Regions from separate parts of the Homo sapiens genome. Here region 2 is linked to region 1. The links are contacts of gene promoters, found by promoter capture Hi-C in human tissues and cell types (Jung and others, 2019). All regions are on one chromosome and are shown on one strand. The core of a region is centred on a gene start or on the middle of the fragment in contact, and the rest is flanking DNA. Distances in the headings are between cores, read along the strand shown.

Region 1 (6,958 bases), core at 965-3,464:
AGTCCTGAAACAGACACTTACAGATGAGGAATATTGACATGATTGTGCAAATGGACCTGAAACTGGATTTTCAGGGGGCTGTGATGGGCTGGATTGTCTCCCTTAGATTCTAATGTTCAAGTCCCCCACACCCCAGTGTCTTAGAATGCAACTGTATTTGGAGGTAGACTTTAAAGAGATGGTTGAATTAAAATGAGGCCCCAAATTCAATCTGACTGGTATGTCTATAAAAAGAGAAAGTCTGGACATCTGGAGATACATCAGGGATGCGTGACTGCTCAGAGGAAAGACCCTGTGAGGCACAGCAAGAAGGCACCATCTGCTTGCCCAGGAGACACCAACCTGTGACACCCTGACCTTAGACTTCCACCCCCAAGAACTGTGAGAGGTAGACCTCCTTGCACTGTAAATCACTCGTTCTGTTACTGCAGTCCCAGAAAACTAACACAGACCTTTGCTGGGCAGAATGCCTTTGCTTCTCTGCAGACAAGATTACTTTTGCACTATTGCACTGTTGTTATCAAAATAATTATATGGGGCTGGGCATGGCGGCTCACACCTGTAATCCCAACACTTAGGGAGGCTGAGGTGGGTGGAGTACCTGAGGTCAGGAGTTCAAGACCAGCCTGGCCAACATGGTGAAACCCCGTCTCTACTAAAAATACAAAAAAAAAAAAAGAAAAAAAAATTAGCCTGGTGTGGTGTGCACCTGCAATCCCAGCTATTCGGGGAGGGGGCTGAGACAAGACAATTGCTTGAACCTGGGAGGCACAGGTTGCAGTGAGCCAAGATCTTGCTACTGCCCTCCAGGCAACAGAATAATAATAATTTTTATTATGGAATCAGTGTCAAATGCTGGTGCCTTCTGGGGGCAACACACAGTTTCCCACCAAAGTGCATCAGTGCCCCAGGCAGTCAAGGTGCCAGGAGACGAGGAGGCCGCGGATCTTCTGTCCACCTGGGAGCAAGCCTGCAGCTTGGGACCCTCCTGGGACCCTGCACCCGCCAGTGCCCTGCCCTCCTGGGCTCTCATGGGAGTGAAGGAGGGTGGGCTCTGTAGGAGTTAAAGAAAGAGGAAAGAAACATGAAAAGCGGCTCAACAAAGGCAGGTTTATTTTGGAGAATAAACCTGAAAGGGACTTCTGGCCGATTTTGGTCAGGAGCCATCTCTCCTACAGACTAAGGATCTTTAAGGGTTTAGGAAGTGGGGAGCTTATCGCAGGCTCGGAATGTTTCTATGTGAGGGAAAGTTTATTGCGGGCTTGGAATGTCTCTGGTCGGAGGGGAGGTTATCTCGAGGTTGGCATGTTTCTGATTGGAGATGTTATTTGTGGTTTACGGTCGTGCTGACATTAGCTATTGGGCTGATGTGTTTTGGGCTGGATTTAGGCAGCTTTTTAATCAAAGGGAACCTAAAATGGCGGTGTTTGTCCAAGAAGGCCATACTCCTGCTCTGTCCCGCTCCAGCCCTTGGGGGCCCCTCGGGCTCTTCTCTTGGATGGTGTGTGAATGGGCACATGTGGAGGGGCTGGTCCAGCTCTGCCTGCCTCTGGCCATCCAAAGGAGGGACAGCAGGGCCTGGGCAGCAATGCCGGCCTTGGAGCCCCGGGGCTGTGGAGGCTGCTTGACAGGACACGGAGCCCCCTCTGTGCTCAGGTCGTGGAGGGCCTCGGGCACTACGGTCTGCCAGGCACCACATGTCACAGCTACTCAAACACCCAGGGCCGCCACGGAGGGCCAATGGCCGCAGGATGGCTCAGGACCCGCCCCACCCCTGTCGCTGCCTTTCTGGCTGCCCCCTAGTCCCTGGACAGGCGCTCCCCAGCCCCAAGCAGGCCCCAGCCAATCTCCTGCCCAGGCAGGAGCTCCCCCTGCCGCCCTCACAGACCTCACCTCTTCCTACACGTTTCCAAGGCCGCGCCCCGCCCCGCACCCCGCCAGGCCCCGCCCCGCACCCCGCCAGGCCCCGCCCCGCACCCCGCCAGGCCCCGCCCCGCACCCCGCCAGGCCCCGCCCCCACCCCGCCAGGCCCCGCCTCTCTCTCCGACCCTGGACAGTCCCCGGGACCCACCCCGCCCCCAGGTCCTGCCCCCGCCCGCCTCCGCGGGGCCTCCCACCCTCCCGGGCAGACTCCACTCCCGCCCCCTCCCCGTGGGTGCCCCCGCCGGCCCCGCCCTCCCAGGCTGCCCCCGGCGCCCCGGGCCTCCTCCGCGCAGTCCCTGAGTCCCGCAGGCCCTGCGTCCCCGCTGCACACCCCCGTCCACTCCCGTGGTCCCCGGTCCGGCATGGCGCGCGCGGTGGGGCCCGAGCGGAGGCTGCTGGCCGTCTACACCGGCGGCACCATTGGCATGCGGAGTGAGCTCGGCGGTGAGTCCGAGACCCTGGGCGGGGTAGGCCTCTGGACCTGGCCGCGACCGGGAGCCTCGGACCCTCCTGCACCCACGGGGGTCGTTGGGGAGTCAAATCCGCGCCTGGATGGGGGGTGCGGGCTGAGGTCGCTCTCCTCCGGTTCCGGCCACCGGCGTCCCCACGCATGGAGCCCCGACCTGGACAGAGGAGATTGCGGTGGGTTCTCGCCGTCGCGGTGCTCCCGGGAGCGCCCTGCGACCCTGGGGCCAGGCCCCCTGTGCTGCCGCTGCGCCCCTGAGGGCCAGCGTCCTGAAGTCCTGGAATATGGGGCGGGAGGGCCCCAGGGCATTGGCCTGCCGCTCCTGCTCTGGACACAGAAGGCTTAGGAGGCTGCCCTGGAGAAGGCTTAGGAGGCTGCGAGGACCCCTCAACTGCGACACCCAGGAGGGTGTCCCCGTCCCCTGGGGTCCTGGTCAGGCAGCAGTGGTTGGCACGATACTGGGGCTACCTGGCATCTGCGGGGACGCACGTGTTCACACCCGAGGTGGCCTCAGAGCCCTGCTTCCTCTGCCCCTGTGTGGACCTGGTTGACCAGAGACCAGCGATTGCGTCTGGACTGAGTTCTGCCTGGGTGGGGTCAGGGCCTGGGACAGGCACCGAGCTCTGTGGTACTCCAGCACAGTGCTGCCAGCCTGGGCTGGGCACAGGAAGGATGGTAGCTTGGGGAGCCTGAGGCCACCGGGATGGGGAGAGGACGGTTGCACTGGAGCCTCCAGAATGCCTGGGTGTTCCCCAGGAGGGCAGGACACTGCCTGGGGCCCCCAGATGGGCTCTGCTGTGATGTGGGGCCTCCCTTGGGGCCAGGACAGCCCCCTCGCCCCGTCTTGAACCTGTTTGCGACCCTCCATGGGCCACTGCCTGCCTTTCCCTCAGGAGCCCTTTCCACTCCTCCTCCTCCCACTCCCTGCTGCCCTGGCCCCTCCCCACACTCCTGCTTGTGTCCAGCGCAGCTCTCTCTCCTGGGACGGCTGGGACCCTCTCCGGCTCTGCCAGAGCCCAGGGCCTCCCCTGGCATGACCAGAACATTCTCTTGTCCCTTGCCCATCTGCCAACCACTTCCCCGCCCCTCCTATCCCCACCCCCTCTCACGGCCTGTTCCCTGGCAGCTGCCCCTCCTGGCCACCCCTTTCTGCTGAAGTGGCTGCTCAGAAGCCACCAGCACTCTGTCGGTGCTCTCAGATTCCACCCACCACACTGTGGCCGGTGCAGACCCCTCTGGAGGCCCACTCTGCGCCCAGCCCAGGAGACAAAGCCTAGTGGGGCTCGTCCACGAGGGACTCAGGTCCCCAAGAACGTGGCTGTCCAGGCTGCCGGGAGCCTCCTCTGCACTTCTCCTTCTGCCTGTGAATGGAACAAAGTCATTCACAGCTTGGCAAACGCCCCTGTGTGACACTCCACTGACACAGAGTGACACAATTCCTGTGCTTGGCCCTCACAAGCTAGAGAGAGAGGCTGCCATTGAAGGGATGGCATGCATTAAGGAGCTAGTCCCAGGGGCAGGATCTGCCAGGGCCCTGTAGGGGCTGTGGGCTGATAACAGGGTCTGAGCTGGGTGTGTGGATGGTGTGGAGTTTGGAGGCAGCCCAGGGAGGGCTTCTCTGAGGACACAAGGCCTGCAGGACAAAGATGGGAGAGGGCCAGGCCAGGAGCAGCCCTGCAAGGTGCAGGAAAGAGGAGTGGGGAGCCCAGCAGGGCCGGAGCCTGCCAGAGCTGCCCCCGAGTGGGGACAGGACCTGGGGACTCTGTGTGGGGCCTCGTCCGACGCCCCTGACGCTACCCCTTCAGGCTTGGAGTGTGGCCAACTGCAGTTTCGTTGAGCTCAACATGTAGTTCTTGAGTGGTCCGAGCTGCAGGGGCAGGTGGACTCTGTAACCCCACCACACACCCGTCTCGCTTGGCCCCCGCGTGCTCGCCGCAGCAGCCTGTGGGTGCACTCACACGCGTGCACCGCATTTCTGAAAGAGGCTGTGAGGTCCTGTGTCTGGGTGGGAAACAAGAGACTTGGAGGCTGGAAATTGGGTGTGGGGCGTCAGTCTTCAGACCTGAAGCAGCCTTCTGAGATCCCTTGGTGCTCTGTGCACTGGGGTCCTGGCTTCTGCTCAGCAGCCCGTCCTCGTGTGGCTGCGAGGTCACCCCCAGCTGTTGCTAGCTGACCCATGTGGGGCATCCACTTCCAGGAACCTGCAGGAATGGGCTCCCCCAACCCCTCGTGAGGTTGGAGCAGCCAGACTGTCAGGCGTCAATGATTTACTCCCTCCACACTGCTGACGTGGGCTCTGGCCTTCCCTGGGGAGGTGAGAGGGGAGTGGTGGCTTTGCCCTAGTAAAGCTGTTTGATTGTCGCTGTTGGAACGGCTTCTGCGCCTGCTGGTAAACAGTGACCTGTGGGTGGAACGCTGCACACCTGGAGCCCTGCCAGAGTTCAGGGAGGGCAGAGGTGATGCCAGTGGGGACGCCCCTTGACCCATCCCTTCTCTGAGTTCATTGAAGCTATCACAGGTCAAGGGGCATAGCGAATCCAAACACGGCTGATAACCCCAAGCCCAAGCTGGCATCAGTGGCCACGTTCTGTACACCCGAGAAACTTGAAGACTTCCTATGTCAAACTGGGAACCCCACCTGCTTGCCGGCCTGTCCCAAAGTCCCTCCTGAGCCCGGCTCCTTGCAGGCACAGCAGGGAGGGCAGAGATCTGGGGCCAGGCAGCTGAGAGAAGCTCCCTGCCCGGTGACCACACGGGTCCCAGCAGTCGAGAGTGTCAGTGGAGTGATGCCCATGGCTTCTTGGTTACTGCAGTGGCGTCTGTGCCCTTGGCCTGGACCTCCTTCCTGAATGGGTGCTACACGTTCACAAGTTTCTAAGCCTAAGCTTGACTTCGCTGGTGACAGTGGGGCCCATTGTCTTAGAGAGCAAAGCCTCCTTTCCAGGTGTTTGGCAGGGGGCTGAGGAGTTTCCAAGTCACCAGCAAACTCAGGCACCTGCCTGGATGGGCCAAGGAAGAGGTTCCAGGCAGGGCTGGAGGGTTCAGATTCTGCAGCCCTTGAAGCTTTTGGAGGGCCCTCATTGAGAAAAGTAATACAAGTTACAAAATCATAGTTAGGTGTGAAAGCCGGTGTTTGTTTATTTTTTATTTATTTTTATTTTTTTGAGATGGAGTCTCACTCTGTCGCCCAGACTGGAGTGCAGTGGCGCGATCTCAGCTCACTGCAAGCTCTGCCTCCCGGGTTCACACCATTCTCCTGCCTCAGCCTCCCGAGTAGCTGGGACTACAGGCGCCCGCCACCGTGCCCGGCTGAAAGCTGGTGTTTATTTAAAATAACAAAAGAAATTGCCCCAGCTGACTGGGCGCGGTGGCTCACACCTGTAATCCCAGCACTTTGGGAGGCTGAGGTGGGTGGATCACTTGAGATCGGGAGTTCAAGACCAGCCATGGACAACATGGTGAAACCCTGTCTCTACTAAAAATACAAAAAAAAAATTAGCCAGATGTGGTGGCAGATGCCTGTGGTCCCAGCTACTGGGGAGGCTGAGGCATGAGAATCGCTTGAACCCAGGAGGTGGAGGTTGCAGTGAGCCGAGATCTCGCCACTGCACTCCAGCCTGAGTGACAGAGTGAGACCCTGTCTCAAACAAACAAAAAAAACTGATGCCACTACATACCTGTTAGAATGGCTGCTGACGTACAACACATTGACTGCGGGGTGAGTGCTGGAGCCCCAGAGTTGGAAAGTGGTCCACTCGCAGGTTGGTAAGAAAACTTTACTGGCGACAGTATAGGTTTGAAAAAGGAACGTTTGGCCAGACATGGTGGCTCAGGCCTGTAATTCCAACACTTTGGGAGGCCAAGGCGGGTGGTTCACTTGCCTTGCTAACATGGCGAAACCCCGTCTCTACTAAAAATAAAAAATTAGCTAGGTGTGGTGGTGCATGCCTGTAATCCCGGCTACTCGGGAGGCTAAGGCAGGAGAATTGCTTGAGCCGGGTGGGTGGAGGTTGCAGTGAGTCGAGATGGCATCACTGTACTCCAGCCTGGGCAACAGAGTGAGACTCTGCCTCAAAAAAAAAAAAAAAAAAAAAAAAAAAGGAAGAAAGGAGAAGAAAAAGAAAAAAGAAAGAAATTGGCCAGGCTGGTTTTGAACTCCTGGGCTCAAATGATCTTCCTGCATCAGCCTCCCAAAATTCTGGGATTACAGGTGTGAGCCATAAAAACCACTGCAAAAGCACATATGGAGTGTTTTGCTTGAGAGAAGAGGACACCAAGAGAGTTTAGTCTTGTCTTTGGCTGATTTCGCCTGTGGTGCCCACACATGCCCCCAGCAGGGACAGCAGGGCCCATATCCACGCCTACCACTCTGCAGCATTCCTGGAAGTTTCTGGAAGCTGTTCCCCCACATGAGTCAGCAGCAGCTGGAGGTGACCTTGCACAACGTGAGCATGTCCCACAAAACCAAACCAGATATGCCCCCTCCACCTTTCCCATAAGGCACCCCAGCTTCACCCGCCGTGATGAGTGGAGAGTGACTTTTTGTTTCCTGTGGCCACTGTGCCGGGC
Region 2 (6,958 bases), core at 3,096-5,595, 440 kb after region 1:
CCCACCGGGTCCCACCTCCAGCACTAGGAATCACAATTCAACATGAGATCTGGCAGCGACATGCATTCAAACTAGATCCCCTGCTGCCTGATTCTCTGTGTCTCCACCTAGCTGCTAAACACTGTTTGAAAAGTCCCACACAAGCCATGGATCAGGCCTCCTCCAGGGTGTGGCCTCCTGAGCAGCCATGCAATTGGCACTTCATTTATTATTATTATTATTTCTTTTTGAGACAGAGTTTCATTCTTGTCACCCAGGCTGGAGTGCAATGGTGCGGTATTGGCTCACTGCAACCTCTGCCTCCCAGTTTCAAATTATTTTCCTGCCTCGGCCTCCTGAGTATCTGGGATTACAGGGGTGTGCCACCACACCCAGCTAATTTTTTTGTGTTTTTAGTAGAGACAGGGTTTCACCATGTTGGCCAGGCTGGTCTTGAACTCCTGACCTCAGGTGATTTGCCCACCTCAGCCTCCAAAAGTGCTGGGATTACAGGCATGAGCCACCGTGCCCAGCCTAATTTTGTCTTTTTAGTAGAGACGAGGTTGGCCAGGCTAGTCTTGAACTCCTGACCTCAGGTGATCTGCCTGCCTTGGCCTCCCAAAGTGCTGGAATTACAGGCGTGAGCCACTGTGCCCAGCCCTCATTTATTATTTATTGATTTAGAGACTGGGTCTTTCTCTATTGCCCCGTCTGGAGTACAATACCACAGTCATAGCTCACCGCAGCCTTGACTTCCCCACCTCAAGCGATCCTCCCACCTCATCCTCCCTAGTAGCTGGAAATACAGGAGTGTGCAACCATGCAGGGTTCATTTTTTAAAGGGTGGGGCTTACTCTTTTGAAATGTACTAAGTGACAGCTGAGGAGATGTTCCAGACCCAGGAAACAAAAGAAACCTCAGACCCTGCTCTACACCACTAAATGGCAAAAGCAAGAAGATTGACGACACCAAGTGTTGGTGAGGATGTGGGGCATCTGAGATTCCCGGGCCCTGAGGGTGGAGGGACATGGTCCCATCCAGATGCTGACATCAGGAGCCAGCCCCGCAGGGCCTCATGAGGTGGCGTACCCACCCCACAACCCAGGCACTCCTCTCCAGGGTGCCCGCCCAAGAGAAACGAAACCTGTCCACACACAGATCGGTGATAAACACCATGCAGCCTTATTCCTTGAGCCAAAAGGGAAAAGACCCAAACGTCCATCCACAGGTGAATAAACGTCCTGTCCATCCACACCATGAATGGTCCATTGGCAAGGAAAAGCAATGAAGGCTGGTAAAAAGATACACATGCCTCTCAAAATCAGCGTGCTGAGTGAAAGAAGACAGATGTAAGGGGATTGGTTTGGCTGTGTCCCCACCCAAATCTCATGTTGAATTTCCCACATGTTGTGGGAGGGACCTGGTGGCAGATAATTGAATCATGGGGGCGGTTTCCCCGTTACTGGTCTCATGAGATCTGGTGGTTTTACAAGGGGAAACCCCTTTCACTCGGTTCTTAATTCTCTCTTGTCTGATGCCACGTAAGACGTGCCTGTCTCCTTCGGCCATAGTTGTGAGGCCTCCTCAGCCACATGGAACTGTGAGTCCATTAAACCTCTTTTTCTTTATAAATTACCCAGTCTCAGGTATGTCTTTATCAGCAGAGTGTGAACAGACAAATACATAAAGGGACACTTACTCTACAACTCCCTGTACAAGAAGCTCTAGAGCAAAATGACTCTATCATGAAAGACATGAGAACAGCAGCTGCCCCTGGGTGGGAAGGACTGAACAGGAAGGGCCTGGAAGAACCTGGGGTGTGGAGTGTGCTACATCTTCATGGAGGTGGGGGCTGTGCTCAGATACGCATGCCTCAAAACTCCTCAAACTCTACACTTAATATCTGCACATTTCACTTCAATTTTTAAAAATAGATGCTACACCAAGAGGACATTTTCCTCCATCAGAGTGGCAAGAACCCAAAAGCTTGATAGCACCCTGCCTGGCCAGGCCGGGGAGAGACAGCCCTCCCTGGCATGAGCACACACAGGTGCAGCCCCTCTGGAGGGCAATGTGCACACTTCCATCAAAATTACAAATGCATGTTCTCTTTCACCCAGCGACTCCACTTTTGAAAACGTTGCAGTCTATAAACACTCTCGTTCACGTGCCCAGAGAGCGGCACATGTAGAGGCCTACTCCTCACAGCACAGTGTCTAGAGGCAAACTCTACAGCAGTCTATAAATACTCTCGTACACGTGCCCAGCGAGCGGCACGTGTAGAGGCCTACTCCTCACAGCACAGTGTCTAGAGGCAAACTCTACAGCAGTCTATAAACACTCTCGTTCACGTGCCCAGAGAGCGGCACATGTAGAGGCCTACTCCTCACAGCACAGTGTCTAGAGGCAAACTCTACAGCAGTCTATAAACACTCTCGTTCACGTGCCCAGAGAGCGGCACATGTAGAGGCCTACTCCTCACAGCACAGTGTCTAGTGGCAAACTCTACAGCAGTCTATAAACACTCTCGTTCACGTGCCCAGCGAGCGGCACATGTAGAGGCCTACTCCTCACAGCACAGTGTCTAGAGGCAAACTTCACAGCACCTGCAAAGGAACAGGTGTACTATGCTACCTATGCTACCTTTTGCATAAACATGGAAACATGAATAGATTCAGATTTGCTTGTAATTTCCTAAAGAAACTCTAGAAGACATTTGAGACGTTGATAATAGTGATTATCAGCTGATGACATAGGGGCTGTTGTCTAGAAGCATCTATAAGCCACAATTAACGGCCTGCACTAAAGGCTGAAGGGGTGTGTGTCCACCAGGAAAGGAAAACAGATATTGTGAGAGAGCCCTTGAGAAAATAAACCAGAGTGGAGGCGTGGCCTGCAATGGCCACACACACAATTCACACACACTCACACACAGTCACACACTTTCAGACACACGTACACCCACACACATTCACACTCTCTCACACATACACACAGACACACATTCACACACAGACACTCATATACACACACTCACATTCACACATACTTTCTCACACACACCCACACACATGCACACACACTTTCACACACATACACACATTCACACACTTACACACGTACACACAACACACATTCACACTTTCACACATACATCCACACACTTTCACACACATACACCACACACTCATTCAGACACACACTCATACACATTCAGACACACAGACACACACATACACACCCACACACATACACATTTAGACACACATTCACACATACACCCACACACATTCACAGTCATACACACATATTCACACACATACACCCACACACATTCACAGTCATGCACACATTTACACACACATTCACACACATACACACCCACACACTTTCACAGACATACACCCACATTTTCACACTTTCACACACATACACCCACACACATTCACACTCATACACCCATTCACGTTCACACTCATACACACATTCAGACACACATTCAGACACACATTCAGACACACACATACACACCCACACACATGCATTCAGACACACACCCACACACATTCACACTTATACACACACGTTCACACACATACACCCACATTCACACACACTTTCACAGACATACAGCCACATTCACACTTTCACAGACATACACTCACATTTTCACACACACTTTCACATACATCCACACACATTCACACTCTCACATACATATATGCACTCATGCACCACACTCACACATTCACAAACACATTCACACACACTTTCTCACACACACACATTCAGACACACATTCACACACACGTTCTCTCACACATACATTCAGACACATGCTCACATATGCACCCACACACTTTTGCACACACTTTCATGCACACATCCCACACACTCCCACACATACGCACTCATGCACACACACACACATACACTCACACACATACACTCTCTCCCACACCCCCAGCAGATAGCCCTCCCCTGTTAAAGACAAGTTACTATTAGGAAGTGACTTCACACCTATGCATAAATACTTCAAAAATTAAAATGAAGGAATTATACATAAAAGACAAATGAAAAACATTCACCCCTGGGAGAACGACCCAAGGAAACACAGGCAAAGTTCAGACAAAAAGGTTTCTTCTGCTTCAAGACAACCTCATCTCCTAAAAGGGAGAAGCGCTCAAAAAGGAGATGTGTGGTTTCAAAGAAGAGATGATAAGATAACAGAAGGTGTGAGCCACTGGAGCCCAGAAAAGAGATGGAAGAGAGAAGTTGATTGGAGACCATAACCACATCTGAACAAAGAGAAAAATAAACATGGCTGAAAATGCCTTTAAAAGGATAAAGTGTTGAGCTTGAGGAAGTCACACACAATAAAGTGAAAGTTTCTACAATGTAAAAATAAGACGGTAAGTACAGAATTCAAACAAAGAAGATATAACACATGCACAATTGATGTTCCTGAAGAAGAAAACAAAACACATAAGCCTGAAAAAAAAAAAATAGACTCTGGGCTATCACAAAATACATGTTCCTTAAGCCTGGATCTGCAGCTCTGCAGAGCACACATTCTGGGGGCAGGAGTGGGGCCAGCAAAACAGCACGATGTATGCTGCTGCCATTGTTAAACTTCAGGGGGTTGGAAATAATCAGACGGAGCATCACTTAAATATCAGAACACAGTAGCTACAGAGTTCTGATGGAAAAAATGTTTGACTTGAGGATTTTATATCCGATAATCCTGACTTGACGTATAAAGGAAACAGACTCTTAGGTAGGCAAGAACTTGAAGAATACACAGCGCCCACAGGAGGAGAAAGCGGGGATCTCCCGGGCCTGTGGCAGCCCGAGATTCCCATTGTCCCAGTGAGACAGGAGGTGGGGCTTGACTCCAGAGGAAGGGCTCAGACACTGGACCAGATTGAGGACTAGCTAAAACAGTGCTGGGGTGAAAGCAGCTTTCAATCAGACCTGCCCACCAGTGTGCCATGTCAATTTACTGTTGTCATGGCAACGCCCAGGAGTTACTGCCTCTTTCCATGGTACCCAATGATCCAAAAGTTACTGCCCCTTCCCTGCATACTCCTTAATCTGCATGCAATTAAAAGTGGGAACCCAAGTGCGGTAGCTCACACCTGTAATCCCAGCACCTTGGAAGGCCAAGACCGGTGGATCACCTGAGGTCACGAGTTCGAGACCAGCCTGGCTAACATGGAAAAACCTCATCTCTACTAAAAATACAAAAATTAGCCAGGTGCAGTGGCACATGCCTGTAATCCCAGCTACTTGGGAGGCTGAGGCAGGAGAATCGCTTGAACCTGGGAGGCGGAGGTTGCAGTAAGCTGAGATCACACCACTGCACTGCAGCCTGGGTGACAGAGTGAGACTCTGTCTCAAGAAAAAAAAAAGTGGGTATAAATATGAGCAGAACAGCCCTGAGCTTCCCCTCTTTGCCTATGGGGTAGCCCGGCCCAGCAGGTGCAGTCTTGGAGCTATAACACCACTGAAGCTGTGACACTGCAGCTTCGATAAAGCTGTTTTCTTCTGCCTCTGGCTTGCCCTTGAATTCTTTCCTGGGCAAAGCCAAGAACCCTCTCAGGCTGAGCCCCACTTTGCGGCTTGCCTGTCCTGCATCACCAGCATAGTTGTCCATAGCAAACTCTTGCTCTAAAAAGTGCTCAAGTTTGAGAGGGAAAGGGTGCTACAAAGGCTACAAATGACATTAGTAGAGGCTGGATGTGGTGGTGCGCACCTGTGGTCCCAGCTACTCAGGAGGCTGAGGTGGGAGGATCGCTTGAGCCTGGTTGGTTGAGGCTGCAGTGAGCCATGATTGCACAACTAGACTTCAGCCTGGTAACAGAGCTAGACCTCATCTTTTAATTCATTAATTACAGGATATTATTAGAACATCTGACAACATTGGAATACAGATGGCATATCATGTAAAAATACTTCTTATTAATACTAATGGAGATGTATGAGGTTGATGACTGTGTTGAGGTTATGTAAGAGAATACTCCTGTTCTTACAACACAAATGATACAGCAAATGGGATAGAATAATAGGTAAATCTGAGCAATGGGTATATGGCTATTCCTTGCACTCTTTTTGCTTTTGTGACTTTGTCTAAGTTTGAAATCATTTCCAGATAAAAAGTCTAAAAAGTAGAAGTCAAGTGCTCCAGGTAGGATGATAAATTACACGGTGAGCCAGCACAGGGGCCTCTCCAGCAACCTCAGATGACAAAATCCAGGTGACAAACGCTGATGAAGACAAAACTCAAGGGGGTAGGAACCACAGCAAAGGCTGGGGACAAGCTCTGGAATCATCTGAATGTTAAACCGGGTGACAGTGACAATGGAAACCACGGTGTGAGGAACAGAAGTTAAATGTTACAAACTTTGATCACGTCCAAAAAATAATAACGTTAGAAAGCATGGAGGGGTTGGGAGTAAAAATGTAACTTGGAACCCGGAACATCTGGTTTACCAACGTGGAGTTCCCTTCGTTCGCAAGCTCTTTCACGGTAGCTTTTAGCAGGTCTTCCAGTGCTTGAGTCTCTGTGAGGTGAAACCTTTATTTCAAGTGTTTCCTTCGGCTTCACCTTGGTTTGTTCTTGTGAAACTCAAACACAGGAGATGCTCTTTCTGATAAACGATGCCCGTGACTAACATTATTTCTACTCCTGTCCCTCTTTCCAGTTCTACTGGACCCTTGGAGGAAAGTTGTCCTTTGTGAGATTGAACAAAGTTGGTTATCTGGAAGGAGAGTTTGGAGCATGCTTTTGACTTCCTCTTGGTCTCCTATGTTACTCAGTTTTTAAATATGAGGCCGGACCTTTCTTACAAAACAAAACCATGATTCTTCTTTTTAAAGGGGAGGAAGGGGCTTAGCACCCCATGCCGCCTGCCTGAGATGTGGGGGCCATGATGCTGCTGAACGTCCCTCGGTCTCCAGGGCTTTCCCACACAACCGT

The links. Contacts are between HindIII fragments. The study calls those that stand out against the background at their distance.
Region 2: a fragment that was not itself captured here is called in contact with the fragment with the promoter of ASPG in region 1 in 3 of the 25 tissues and cell types used here (dorsolateral prefrontal cortex, heart left ventricle and lymphoblastoid cells).

Annotation. Positions count from the first base shown.
Region 1 is chr14:104,083,486-104,090,443 of GRCh38, forward strand. ASPG (asparaginase) reads left to right here and starts at 2,215. Exons shown (of 16, transcript NM_001080464.3): 1 at 2,215-2,367. The coding sequence starts at 2,286. LOC124903408 reads left to right here. Exons shown (of 2, transcript XM_047432050.1): 2 at 1-210. The HindIII fragment of the contact is 41,970 bases long and covers 1-6,958 here.
Region 2 is chr14:104,523,849-104,530,806 of GRCh38, forward strand. It overlaps LOC124903395 (a long non-coding RNA gene), which reads right to left. Exons shown (of 2, transcript XR_007064361.1): 2 at 5,837-6,958. Among named protein-coding and RNA genes, the nearest start is that of C14orf180, 52 kb to the right of the region's middle. The HindIII fragment of the contact is 6,901 bases long and covers 896-6,958 here.